Regions from separate parts of the Homo sapiens genome. Here regions 1, 3 and 4 are each linked to region 2. The links are contacts of gene promoters, found by promoter capture Hi-C in blood cells and fetal thymus (Javierre and others, 2016). All regions are on one chromosome and are shown on one strand. Each heading gives the region's core, a stretch centred on a gene start or on the middle of the fragment in contact. The rest is flanking DNA. Distances are from core to core; before and after follow the strand shown. Region 1 overlaps ZNF318 (zinc finger protein 318). Region 2 holds the start of LRRC73 (leucine rich repeat containing 73). Region 3 holds the start of SLC22A7 (solute carrier family 22 member 7). Region 4 has its middle 8.4 kb from the start of CRIP3.

Region 1 (2,724 bases), core at 64-2,563, 150 kb after region 2:
GTATAAAAACCCTATGTTGTAGCCACAGCTGGAGCCTACGTCCTCTGCACAGAGACTCTGGTGTGTGTCTTGATGAGGTGGTCAGTGAATTCCTGATAGGGAGACTTGGTGAATCCTGTCTCCTTCCAGAGGTCGGGGGTCAGGTAGCTGTAGGTCTTAGAGATGGCATCAAAGGTGGCCTTGGCGAAGTTGCCCAGGGTGGCAGTGCAGCCCCTGGCTGAGGTGTAGCAGTCATCAATACCAGCCATCATGAGCAGCTTCTTGGGCACGGGCTGAGACGATGCCAGTGCCCTTGGGCGCAGGGATGAGGTGCACCAGCACAGAGCCGCAGTAGCCTGTCACCTTGCAAGGAACGGTGTGGGGCTTGTGGATCTTGTTCCCCCAGTAGCCTCTGTGCACAGGGAGAATGGAGAGCTTGGCCAGGATGATGGCCCCGCAGGTGGCAGTGGCCACCTCCTTGGAGCACTTAACACCCAGACCGACGTGGCCATTGTAGTCCCCGATGGCAACAAACGCCTTGAACCTTTTCAACTGGCCAGTGTGGGTCTGCTTCTGCACTGGCATAATCTTCAACACCTCATCCTTGAGAGAGGCCCCCAGGAAAAAGTCAGTGATCTCAGATTCCTTGATGGGCAGGAAGAAGAGGTAGTTCTCCAGGGACTTGATCTTTATGTCCTTAACCAAGCAGCCCAGCTTGGTGACAGGCATCCACTCCTTATCCTTGGCCTTGCCTCCACGAGCTCCGTGGCCTCAGCCCTGTCCACAGCTGCAACCCCAGCCCCTCCATGGAAGCCACCACGGTTTCCCATCCCAGGGCCCCCGGGGCCTCTGCCCCCGCCCCACCCCCTCCACCGACATCATCTGCCATTTGGTGTTTTCTCAGAGAAGAAGCAAGGCAAAATAGTCTTATGTCATATAACATTGAAGCTTCTAAAGGGCTTCAAGATATGTGACTGTATCACTTAATTGAGGCAATAGCCCTTGCTCTTCTGGCTGCTTCTGTTTGGGGAAATTATTGAGTAGGTAGTCTGGGTAGGTGGTACATAGTGTGATTGTCTTCATTCTTTGCTGAGGTTTTGAGTTAGCTTCAGCAGTTCTTCTTAGGCCTAGGATGTCACTTCCCCTTTGCATAAACTTTGTTATGCACATGTGCTTCAGATAGAACTAATTATATTTTTAAATTACAAAAATTAAAATTTTTCCTCTTAAGGAGTTTGGGGCAGCAGTCTTCTTTGTAGAATCATGTGTTTCAGAGGCACAGGTCTACTTTAGAGAAAGTGAGATTAAGGTTCTAAACAAAGATACAAGGCCATTTAAAAAATACTGTTGCCCCCTACACATTTCTCTTCTTTCCCTTTTGTTCAGTATGGTTTGTGTGGATAATTACTGTCCACTAAAACCAGGCCACAGGACCATTGGCATACTCAGGTTGTCTCCTGACAGTGAGTCTAGTCTTCAACCAATGATACAGGCCATTTATATCCTTTGTATGTAGATGTTTGGGCCTGGCGCAGTGGCTCATACCTGTAATCCCAGCACTTTGGGAGGCTGAGGTGGGCCAATCACTTGAGGTCAGGAGTTCGAGACCATCCTGGCCAACATGATGAGATCCTGTCTCTACCAAAAATACAAAAATTACCCAGTGGTGGCGCATGCCTGTAGTCTTAGCTACTCCAGAGGCTGAGGCAGGAGAAGCTTGAACCTGGGAGGCAGAGTTTGCAGTGAGCCCAGATTGTGCCACTGCACAGAACAAGACTCTGTCTCAAAAAAAAAAAAAAAAAAAAAAAGACGTGTATGTAGATGTTTATTTTTTAAAAATTCATTTATTTTTTTATTTTTATTTATTTATTTTTTGAGACAGAGTCTTGCACTGTTGCCTGGCTGGAGTGCAATGCTGCAATCTCGGCTCACTGCAACCTCCGCCTCCCAGGTTCTAGCAATTCTCCTGCCTCAGCCTCCTGAGTAGCTGGGATTACAGGTGCGGACTACCATGCCAGGCTAATTTTTTGTATTTTTAGTAGAGATGCGGTTTCTTTGGCCAGGCTGGTCTCGAACTGACCTCGTGATCCGTCCACCTTGGCCTCCCAAAGTGCTGGGATTACAGGTGTGAGCCACCGCGCCTGGCCCCTTTTAAATTTATTTTTAAGAGACAGGGTCTCACTCTTGTCACCCAGGCTGGAGTGCAGTGGCACGATCATAGCTTAGTGTAGCCTCTAACTCCTGGGTTCAAGTGATTCTCCTGCCTCAGCCTCCCAAGTAGCTAGGAATACAGGCACACACCACCCGACGCCCAGCTAATTTTTCAAATTTTTGTAGAGATGGGGTTCTCACTGTGTTGCCTAGGCTGGTTTCAAACTCCTGAGCTCAAGTGACCCTCCTGCCTCAGCCTCCCAAAGTGATGGGATTGCAGGCATGAGCCACCATGCCTGGCCAGATGTTTGTTTATTTTTTTTCTGAGACTCTAGTAGTCTTTCTCTTCCTTTATTGAATCTGTTAAGTTTTATATCAGGTTTGGATGATAGCCAAGTTGGGTTTTAGTGTCTTCACCTTAGCAGCCCTGTATGTAGGACTGTAATTCTACTCAAAAGGGAACATGAAAGGTAATGTGAAAAATTCTAAAACACTTGGCTTCTAAAGACTTGTGGATGTTAGGTTGATTTCTCCTGTTCATCAAAGTAATTTGCACATTTAATGTTCCATTCATGGAGCTATTTATTTAAAAAA
Region 2 (2,700 bases), core at 22-2,521:
GATGGAACACTGCAGCCAGCTTGAGTCTGGGCTCAGCTGCTCTCTTGGGAAGCCAAGGAAGCAGTGACAATTGAACAAAACATCCCGACTTAAACCCCGTGTCAAAACAAGGATCTTCTGCACCTGGGCATTGTGTTGATAATTTTCCTGTGGAGCTCTTAATTGAAGCCAAATTTGGCTTTGCCTTGGTGGTACTGGGGCCAGCTCCTTTTAGTTTTTCTGTCTTTCCTCTTAAAACCAACCACCACTCCTAACATAGCACCATCCACCCCCACCACCTCTTTAATATGCTCCACTTAATAAGTTAATTCAGGTGGCTAAGAGTGGGAATAGGGCCTTTGACCTCCCTTCACTATATTGAATATTATATTTTATGTAAAATAATCATCTTAACACTAGTAAATCTGGGTCAGCAGCATCTATCCCTCCTAACAAAGGGACAAACAGAGGTGCCCTTCATTTGTCCTGCGTTACACAAGTGAGTCCCCCACCACCCTGGCCAGAGGACAAAGTTGAGACAGCACCGCCTGCACCGTGCAGTGTGGCTCAGCCGCCTTCACGTCCTCACCAGTGCTCCAGGGCCCTGGCCCTGGCACCTTCTTTGTATTGGCTGCCCCAGTCTCGCGGCACGGACACACCCTCAGATGTCAACAGTGCCCTGCGTACCTGAGAAGGTGTGGCACCAGGACCTTGCATCTATCTGAGGCTCCCCTGCCCTAGGGACCCTATGGGGTACCCTTCTCCCCAGCAGCTCAAGCTGGCTCTGCCCAGCCGTGGCCCCTGGGGCCTCCCTGATGAGGCCGCCATCTTGGCGAGGAGCAAGCGGGGAAGTCCCCATGGGCCGGGATCACCACGCACGCTGCGCCTCGAGTCACGGGGGCGGGAGCGAGGCGCGGCGCGGATGAAAGGGCCCTGGGGCCTTCCAAATAGGAGGGAACAGTGCCCTGGATTCCGGCGGGGGTATGGACCTTAGGAACGGGGAAGGATGGAAGAATGGGCAGAAGCAGCAGTAACCGTGCCCAACGCCATCTCCACGGGGCGTGCCTCCATTCCGCTCCCCGTCAGCCCTACCCACTCAGCCCTGCCGCCTGCCGCCTGCCAGTTGGCTGACCCCACTCCCAAGGGAAGAGCGGCCTATCGCTCCCAGCTCCTTGCCCCGAACCACCCAGTGTACGCGAACCTCGCGGGCCGGCGTGGCCTTGGCCGGGCAGGGGGCGGGGCGAGCGCCGGTGACGCGGCCGTTGCCATGGGAACTCGCCGCCCGCTCGCTCTCTGGAGCTGGAGCCGGAGCTGCCGCCAGCCGCCCGCCTCAGGCTCTCTCTGCCAGCCGTGCGGCCAGGCCCGCGGGGTGGTCGGGGGGAGCCGGGCGGCAGAGAAGGAGGGAGCGGGTACGGCCTCCTAGCCGAGACCGGTAAGCCGAAGCCCTTGAGCCGCTCGCTGCCGCTGCCGCCGCCGCCGCCGCGACCGCGAGGGACAAGGACAAGCGCCGAGCAGCGCCTGCCCAACCCCCGGAACGCGCACCCGCCCCAACGCCCAGACACGGACCGTGCGGGCCGCCCCCGCCCCAGCGCCGCCCCACTTCAGCCCGGCCCGCGCCCTGGACGCCTCCGCACCTCTGGCCGGCTCCGGCTCAGTCCCGGTAGCTCTTCTCCGCCCCCGCCGCAGCCTCCGCCGCAGCCGCAGCCTCCGCCACAGCCGCCGCCTCCACCCCCGGCCCCACTCCGCCCGCGACCCCTGCCGGGGCCCCGACCCCGGCCCTATCCCCGGCCCCGCCCGCGGCCCCACCAACCTCCGTTCCGGCCCCGTACCCGGAGGCCCAGCCGTGGGCACGATGCTGCCCAGCTCCATCCAGATTTCGGGGGAGCCGCTGTCCGGCGCCGAGGTGCGGGACATCTGCCGCGGCCTTCGCGACAACGCCGTGCGCCTGCTCTCACTGCGCGGCTGCCGCCTCTGCGACCGCGACTTTGGCCGCATCTGCCGGGCCCTGGCCGGGGCCACGTCCCTGGCGCAGCTCAACCTTAACCTGGGCGTCGTGTCCAGCCCCAGCCGCATCAAGCAGCTGGCTGAGGCTCTGCGGACCAACCGCTCCATCCAGTCCCTCTTGTGAGTGCGCCCCCTCGCAAGGGGGTCCCGGGCACTGCACCCTTCCATACACTCCCCTGGCACCTCCTGTTCCTCCACACTCCTTCCAGTACCATCCTACCTTCACATGCCTTATGCACATACACCGTGCCTCGGCCCATGCCTTCACAGCACCCTCCAAGCACATGCTTGGACTTTGCACGCGCGACCCTAGCCGTGTTGGGATACCCACCAGTTCCTGACATGAGGTGGGGGCCGTACCTCCCCACCTAATCATCTGCATTTACTTCACTGGGGCAGCTCCTTGGTTCCCAAGGGGGAATATCCCCGTGGGGACGAGAGCCCTGCCCACTGCAGAGTTCCGGTCCACCACCCACCCACCCCTTCTCTGCCCCTCCCTGTGCAATGTCCTGGATCCCTGCCCCAGAAAACAAACCGAATTCTCCCTCTATCTGTATTCCCTGAGAATCTAGAACTTTCCTTCTCCTTTTCCAGGCCTCTCAAGCGCTGTGACTGCCCTCCCCATACCTAGGGCTGACAGAAGTGAAAGTGCCCCTTTCCCATGTAGATAGTGCGGAGGACTGCAGTAACCCTGCTCTCTCACTCTCCTCCAGCCTG
Region 3 (2,835 bases), core at 154-2,653, 210 kb after region 2:
ACGTAGGCTACCAGCAGCAGACGCCGCCGCCCAAACCTGCAAAGGGGTCATGCAGGGTCAGTTCCCTGTGGAAGGAGGTTCTAAGGCATAGGTAGACTAGGCTCATACCCCAGCTAGTGGGAGAAAGTTCCCCCAGCCAGTTTCTTATTGGCCCAGTGCCTCACCCCACCTGTCGGACAGATATCCAAAGGCCACAGCCCCCACCAGCACACCGGCGAAGAAGAAAGTGGACGCAGCTCTGTTCAGACCTTTCTGCTCACACACCAGATCCCACTGCAAGGACAGGCAGAAAGGGACCTCCTATGAACATCAGCCCCTCTCCAGCAGGCACCAGCTCCTCCTCTCCAGACCCTGGAGCCTTCTGAGGCGAACTCTGCCATTCTGGTACCTCCATGCCAGATAATAAACCTCCCAACGATTCACGCCAGCTTGGGGAATAGGAAACTTTGTCCCTCCCCAGTCCTGCAGCCTCAGCTTCTTCCCAAGGAAGGCCTCGACCTGCTGCCTCCCAGGGAGACTGCCTCCACCGACATTCCACCTCCAGATGGATTATGTAAATACCGACCTGGGACTGGAAAAGAGGAAGGGAGAAAAGAAGGCCTCTATTGTTTCTCCACCTCTTGCTGCAGAAATTGCCTTCTCAGCTCTTTGTCTCAACTCCCTGAAGCCACTTTAGCCCTTCCCTGCCTTAATCACCTCCCAATTAATGATGATGATAACAGTTCTTGTGTAGGATCCTGTTACTACAAGCCATGAACTAAAAGTGCCTTATATTCATAGCCCCCATCTACAGATTGGTAAACTGAGACTTTAAGAGGTAAAGTAATACATCTAATGCCTACACAGTAACCACCCAAGGCAATGGCAGGCCCATCCCTCTCACATGTCTCTCAACTTCTGGGCTTAAGTACCTCAGTTGCAATGGTAGAGGAGAATTCTGAGTGGTCGTACTCCCAGCCCTGAGAGCAGGGCACTGTGGCAGGTTCATCCTCCAGCTCCCCACGGCTCTGCCTTTCTTCCCCCAACGTGGTGTTGGGGAGAGCCTGGGGATAGGCAAAGCGGAGGCAGGAGCTGAGCGTGCCATCAGGCTCCCGGGGAAGATGGGCCTCCAGCCACACATCCTGATGGCTGAAGTTGGCAGGGGCACCCGGCAGGGCACATCGGTGGGCAGGCACGGCAGCCAGGAAGATGGGCAGGAGGAAGTGCAGTGGTAGCAGCACTCGGGGCAGGGCCAGCAGTGCCACATTCCGCAGTTGGAAGGGCCCAAAGCCGCCCACCTGCTCCAGCAGCTCCTCAAAGCCCATGCTGCTCACCCACCAAATGCTTCAGGTGCAGCCTCCCTCTAGTATCCAGCCAGCTCAAACTGCCCACCACATAGACCCTTGGACTCTGGAGGTGGGAGTGGATGGACTGGAGAGCCTGCAGCCAGAATCCAGCCCTCAGGGGCTGGCCCAGGACTGGGCCCTCCCCAGCCATCAGGTCTCCAGGGACCTCTACCTGTCTTGCCTGGTGCCTGGGGGAAGGGGAAGCCATCCATTCAGAGGTCACTGGCTCGTGGCTCTGGGGCTTACCCATTAGTGTTCAGGGACCAAGGCTACCATGATGAGGTAGCTGGGTGATGGCATAGGAGGTGAGCCCCTAGCCCCTTGGTCAGCAGAGCTCCCAGGATCCCTAAGAAGAGGAGGCCCCTGGGGCCTGGGGCCAGCTCTCCCAGGGTGCCCTTTGTCCTGTGAGACCTTAGGTCAGCCTTGCCTATTTGCAGCTACAGCCATGGCCTGGCCGACAGCCCAGGATTCAGGACTGAAAGCTGGATCCTAACCAGGTTTCTTTCTGCTGAGCCATGAGGCCTCCTCGCATCCCTCTCCCCTGCTGGGAGCTGATGCCCTGGCCTAAGACACACCTGTGATCACACCGGGCAACTTGATGTCTCTGAGGATCCCAGGCTCATCCCATTCCCACTTCACTCAGGGACTCTCCCCATACATATGGTTCCAACTGCCTGTCCCATTCCCCTATTTCCAGCAGCTTCCTAAATTACCTTTTGGAGGGATAGGGAATGGCGGGGGACATGTTGCCAAGGTACCTGCAATGCCTAAGATTACCTTTTGGAGGGGTAGGGAATGGGGGAGGGGGAGTTACCAAGGTCTTGTCAAAGGTACATGCAATACCTAAGACTCAAATGTTCAATCTGACCCTCCCACTCAATTCTCAATCATGGTCCCTGCAGCAAAAGTACAGCAGAAACCAGCAATGTCTGGTTTATTCTCATCTGATTCTCCAAACACTTAGCTGGCAGACCCACTGGTTTAATCCAGCTCCTACTTTGAACAGGTCAGAAAACTAAAGACAGGGAGGGGACCTGCTGGGGTCACACAATGACTCAGCAGCAGAGCTGAAGAAAAGACCAGGTCCCCTGACTCCAGACCAGGAATCTCACTTTTGACCTAAGCTGCTGAGCTGGTGATGTCCCAGTCTGCTCCAGGCTGGGATCCCTGAGAAAGCGCTGGGAAAGGAGCTAAATCGATGGCATGGCGTGTGTTAATGGGGGTGCTGACAGCCATGGAGTGAAGCAAGAGGCAGCTAATGGTGGTGGCAGTGACAGGGGGTGACAATGAGAAGAAATGTTTGAGTCTCTAGTGCATCCTCGCCATTCTAGAGGGTACATAGATGCCTCAGACACGGTCCCTACCCTTAGGGAGCTTACAGGAGGGTTAAAATAAGCTAACCCTCCCTGTCTCCAGTCTCACCCCTTTCAACCCATTCTCCATACACTGGCCACAGTGAACATTTAAACACAAATCTAAGAGGGTCACATCCCTGTTTAAAACCCTTCAC
Region 4 (2,936 bases), core at 319-2,818, 190 kb after region 2:
GATGGGTGAAGTACTCGGACCAGGTCCAGGTTACAAGCTCATCATAAGAAGGCAGGGTCTGCCTTATTAAACCACATAGACAAATTTGAATTAACATGGAATAGGGAGAGATGAGGTTCTTCAAAGGAAATGCTTCAAAGTAGAAAATAAAAATATAAAGCTACAAAGGTTCAGTGCCTTCTTTGTAGACTTTCTCTTTATGGCTTTTATCAAAAGATCAGTGTTCAGTTTCTTGTCTCCACTAAGATGCTGCCTTCTTTTTTGGTAATAGGAGGGTAGAAATTACAAATAAGCGCTTTATAGCTCTGCCTGTTCCAAAAGCCCAGGAGAAGAAGAGGAAAAGCCCAATCATTTTGGATTTGGGAAGAGGGTGGAATTTGACTCCTGATTCTGTGACCTTGAGCTTCATAGAGGAAATGAAAGACTCCTCTATGGAAAGGTAAGCATTTGCATTTGTATGAATCACAAGATTAAACTGTTTTAGCCTCATTAACATAGCATTAACATAGTCTCATGACCTGTAAGGACTATTTTTGTATATTATTTAAAAATTACCCTCCAGACCTTAGCATGAAGATGAGGAAGTTACTAGGACTTTACGCCAACTCCACGGAGCATTGCCACCATCTATCAGATTTATAAGCAAGCTGACTACCAAGTTTCACTTCTTTCTATTCCTCCTCAGTTTCCAGCATATGGATACATTTTTCATGCTGCAAATTATTTGTAGGTAGTTATTTTTATATATTTTCAGATGAAATACACATTTCTAAGTGAATACTTGAAAAGCCAAATCCATCTTTGCATGAAAAACCATCGTTTAAAGATGTTATTGATTTCTTCGCAAACATAGGTTGAAGGCACTCATGGCAAAGGTTTAGGGTGTCCTTTCCTGCAGTCTTGATTCTGAATTAGTCTAGTTGATGCCACTGAATCACAAAATGTAGCCTACTCAATATCCCTAAGCAGCTAACCACTATTAGCTTTATACAGAGTACTCTCAACAGGTTCATGTAATGGCAAGATGATGCTGGAAAATGAGGGGGAAAAAAATTAAACAGACTCTTGCTAGAGCCATAAATGATGTTTATAACTATACAGCAGCAGTTCTCTGTGGGTGGGGTGATTAGTATGTTTTAAGAAAGCAAATTCAGTCTTTTTTTGTTTTGTGTGTGTTTCCCTTTTTAAAAAGTAATATAAACTACAGAAAGTAAAGCTTTGTAGTTGGAGCAGACATGCAGAAGATGCAATGAGAAAGCAAAAGGTTTATGGGTAGTAAGGATTAAGAAACACAACTATAAAGAAATAAGACTGATTTTTCATTAACTTACCAGAACTGAGTGATTTCCCTTTCAAAAGAGTTATCTAAGAACAAAGTTCTGGGTAATGCCTTAAAAGTCACAGGCATGGCCGGGCACAGTGGCTCACGCCTGTAATCCCAGCACTTTGGGAGGTCAAGGTGGGCAGATCACAAGGTCAGGAGTTCAAGACCAGCCTGGCCAACAAAGTGAAACCCCATCTGTACTAAAGATACAAAAAATTAGCCAGGCATGGTGGTGCATGCCTGTAATCCCAGCTACTTGGGAGGCTGAGGCAGGAGAATTGCTTGAACCCGGGAGGCAGAGGTTGCAGCCAGCCAAGATCACGCCATTGCACTCCAGCCTGGGTTACAGGGTGTGTCTCTGTCTCAAAAAAAAAAAAAAGTCACAGGCATATGACCATGTACTTGAACAAGCCTACAAAGACATAAATGGGTGGAGTTTGTTGTTGTAATCAAATTCACTGCAAAGCTAACCTGACACATAATAGCAGCCTTATTTATAAGGTTGCTTTATAGTTTACATAACACTTCCCCACATTCTCTTATTTGCCACATAATTAATGATAGACATAATTGTGCCACATGCTAATTAAGCTTAATTAGTAAGTTCTTATGAATGACTACAATTGGTGGGACTTGTTTGCTACCAAAAGCAAATTTTCAGTTCTCTATTTACTTAATTAGTTACCTACTATTTATAATCAGGATCAGTTAAGTTATATTTTCTGTTTTGTATCATACATGTTGATCCTCATGTATATTGAGAAACAAAACTCCTGGCGGGGCACAGTGACTCACAGCGCTTTGGGAAGCCAAGGCAGGAGGATCTTTTCAGGCCAGGAGTTCAAGACTAGCCTGGGCAACGTAGTGGAACCCCATCTCTACAAAAAATAAAAAATTAGCGAGGTACAGTGGCACATGGCTGTAGTCCTAGCTACTTAGGAGACTGATGGGGGGATTGCTTGAGCCCAGGAGTTCCAGGTTACAGTGAGCTGTGACCTGTACTCCAGCCTGGGTGACAGAGCAAGATCCTGTCTCTTGAAGGAAAAAAGGAAACAAATTCCTGAGACCTTATTCCTAGGCAGCTGAACTTCCTTCACTCCAGGACACTCGTTGTTACCAACTCTCAACCTCTACCAGTCCCCTCTTATTCCCACATCTCTCACTAGCACTCATCTATCACACTCAGGGGGACTTGTATATAACATGTAACATTCATTCACCAGCAAGTATTTGTTGAGCACTATGTGCCAGAGATTTGAGCAAGGCACTGGAAATATATGCAATGGTTGGCAAAGCAGCCTGGTCCCTGCTCTCATGGATCTCACAGACTAAGGGGGCAGACAAAGCCCAGATTGGAGTGGAGGAGGTAGGCAGGAAGTTACCATATTTATTTCACTTTCTAAACTACAACCTGTCCTTTATCAATAATAAAGATGATGGGCTGGGTGGTGGCTCATGTCTGTAATCCCAGCACTTTGAGAGGCCAAGGTGAGTGGATCACTTGAAGTCAAAAGTCCAAGACCAGCCTGGCCAACATGGTGAAACCTTGTCTCTACTAAAAATACAAAAATTAGCCGGGCATGGTGGCACACTCCTGTAATCCCAGCTACTA

What was found. The method cuts DNA at HindIII sites, captures the fragments that hold promoters and counts their contacts. A CHiCAGO score of 5 or more calls a contact.
Region 1: a fragment that was not itself captured here is called in contact with the fragment with the promoter of LRRC73 in region 2 in 1 of 17 cell types (endothelial precursors); the score reaches 5.3 in endothelial precursors.
Region 3: a contact is called between the fragment with the promoter of SLC22A7 here and the fragment with the promoter of LRRC73 in region 2, in 1 of 17 cell types (endothelial precursors). The highest score is 5.5, in endothelial precursors.
Region 4: a fragment that was not itself captured here is called in contact with the fragment with the promoter of LRRC73 in region 2 in 2 of 17 cell types (endothelial precursors and naive B cells); the score reaches 5.5 in endothelial precursors.

The regions. Positions count from the first base shown.
Region 1 is chr6:43,361,582-43,364,305 of GRCh38, reverse strand. The region is part of intron 2 of ZNF318 (zinc finger protein 318); the gene reads left to right. It also overlaps the pseudogene RPS2P28. Among named protein-coding and RNA genes, the nearest start is that of ZNF318, 6.7 kb to the left of the region's middle. The HindIII fragment of the contact is 768 bases long and covers 930-1,697 here.
Region 2 is chr6:43,508,917-43,511,616 of GRCh38, reverse strand. LRRC73 (leucine rich repeat containing 73) reads left to right here and starts at 1,271. Exons shown (of 6, transcript NM_001012974.4): 1 at 1,271-2,103; 2 at 2,697-2,700. The coding sequence starts at 1,832. RefSeq lists silencers at 1,114-1,403, 1,424-1,693. The HindIII fragment of the contact is 9,076 bases long and covers 1-2,700 here.
Region 3 is chr6:43,296,828-43,299,662 of GRCh38, reverse strand. SLC22A7 (solute carrier family 22 member 7) reads right to left here and starts at 1,403. Exons shown (of 11, transcript NM_153320.2): 1 at 912-1,403; 2 at 566-571; 3 at 170-273; 4 at 1-36. The coding sequence starts at 1,304. It overlaps LOC124901319 (a long non-coding RNA gene), which reads left to right. Exons shown (of 2, transcript XR_007059582.1): 2 at 1-721. The HindIII fragment of the contact is 22,683 bases long and covers 1-2,835 here.
Region 4 is chr6:43,315,805-43,318,740 of GRCh38, reverse strand. No RefSeq gene overlaps it. Among named protein-coding and RNA genes, the nearest start is that of CRIP3, 8.4 kb to the right of the region's middle. The HindIII fragment of the contact is 699 bases long and covers 1,219-1,917 here.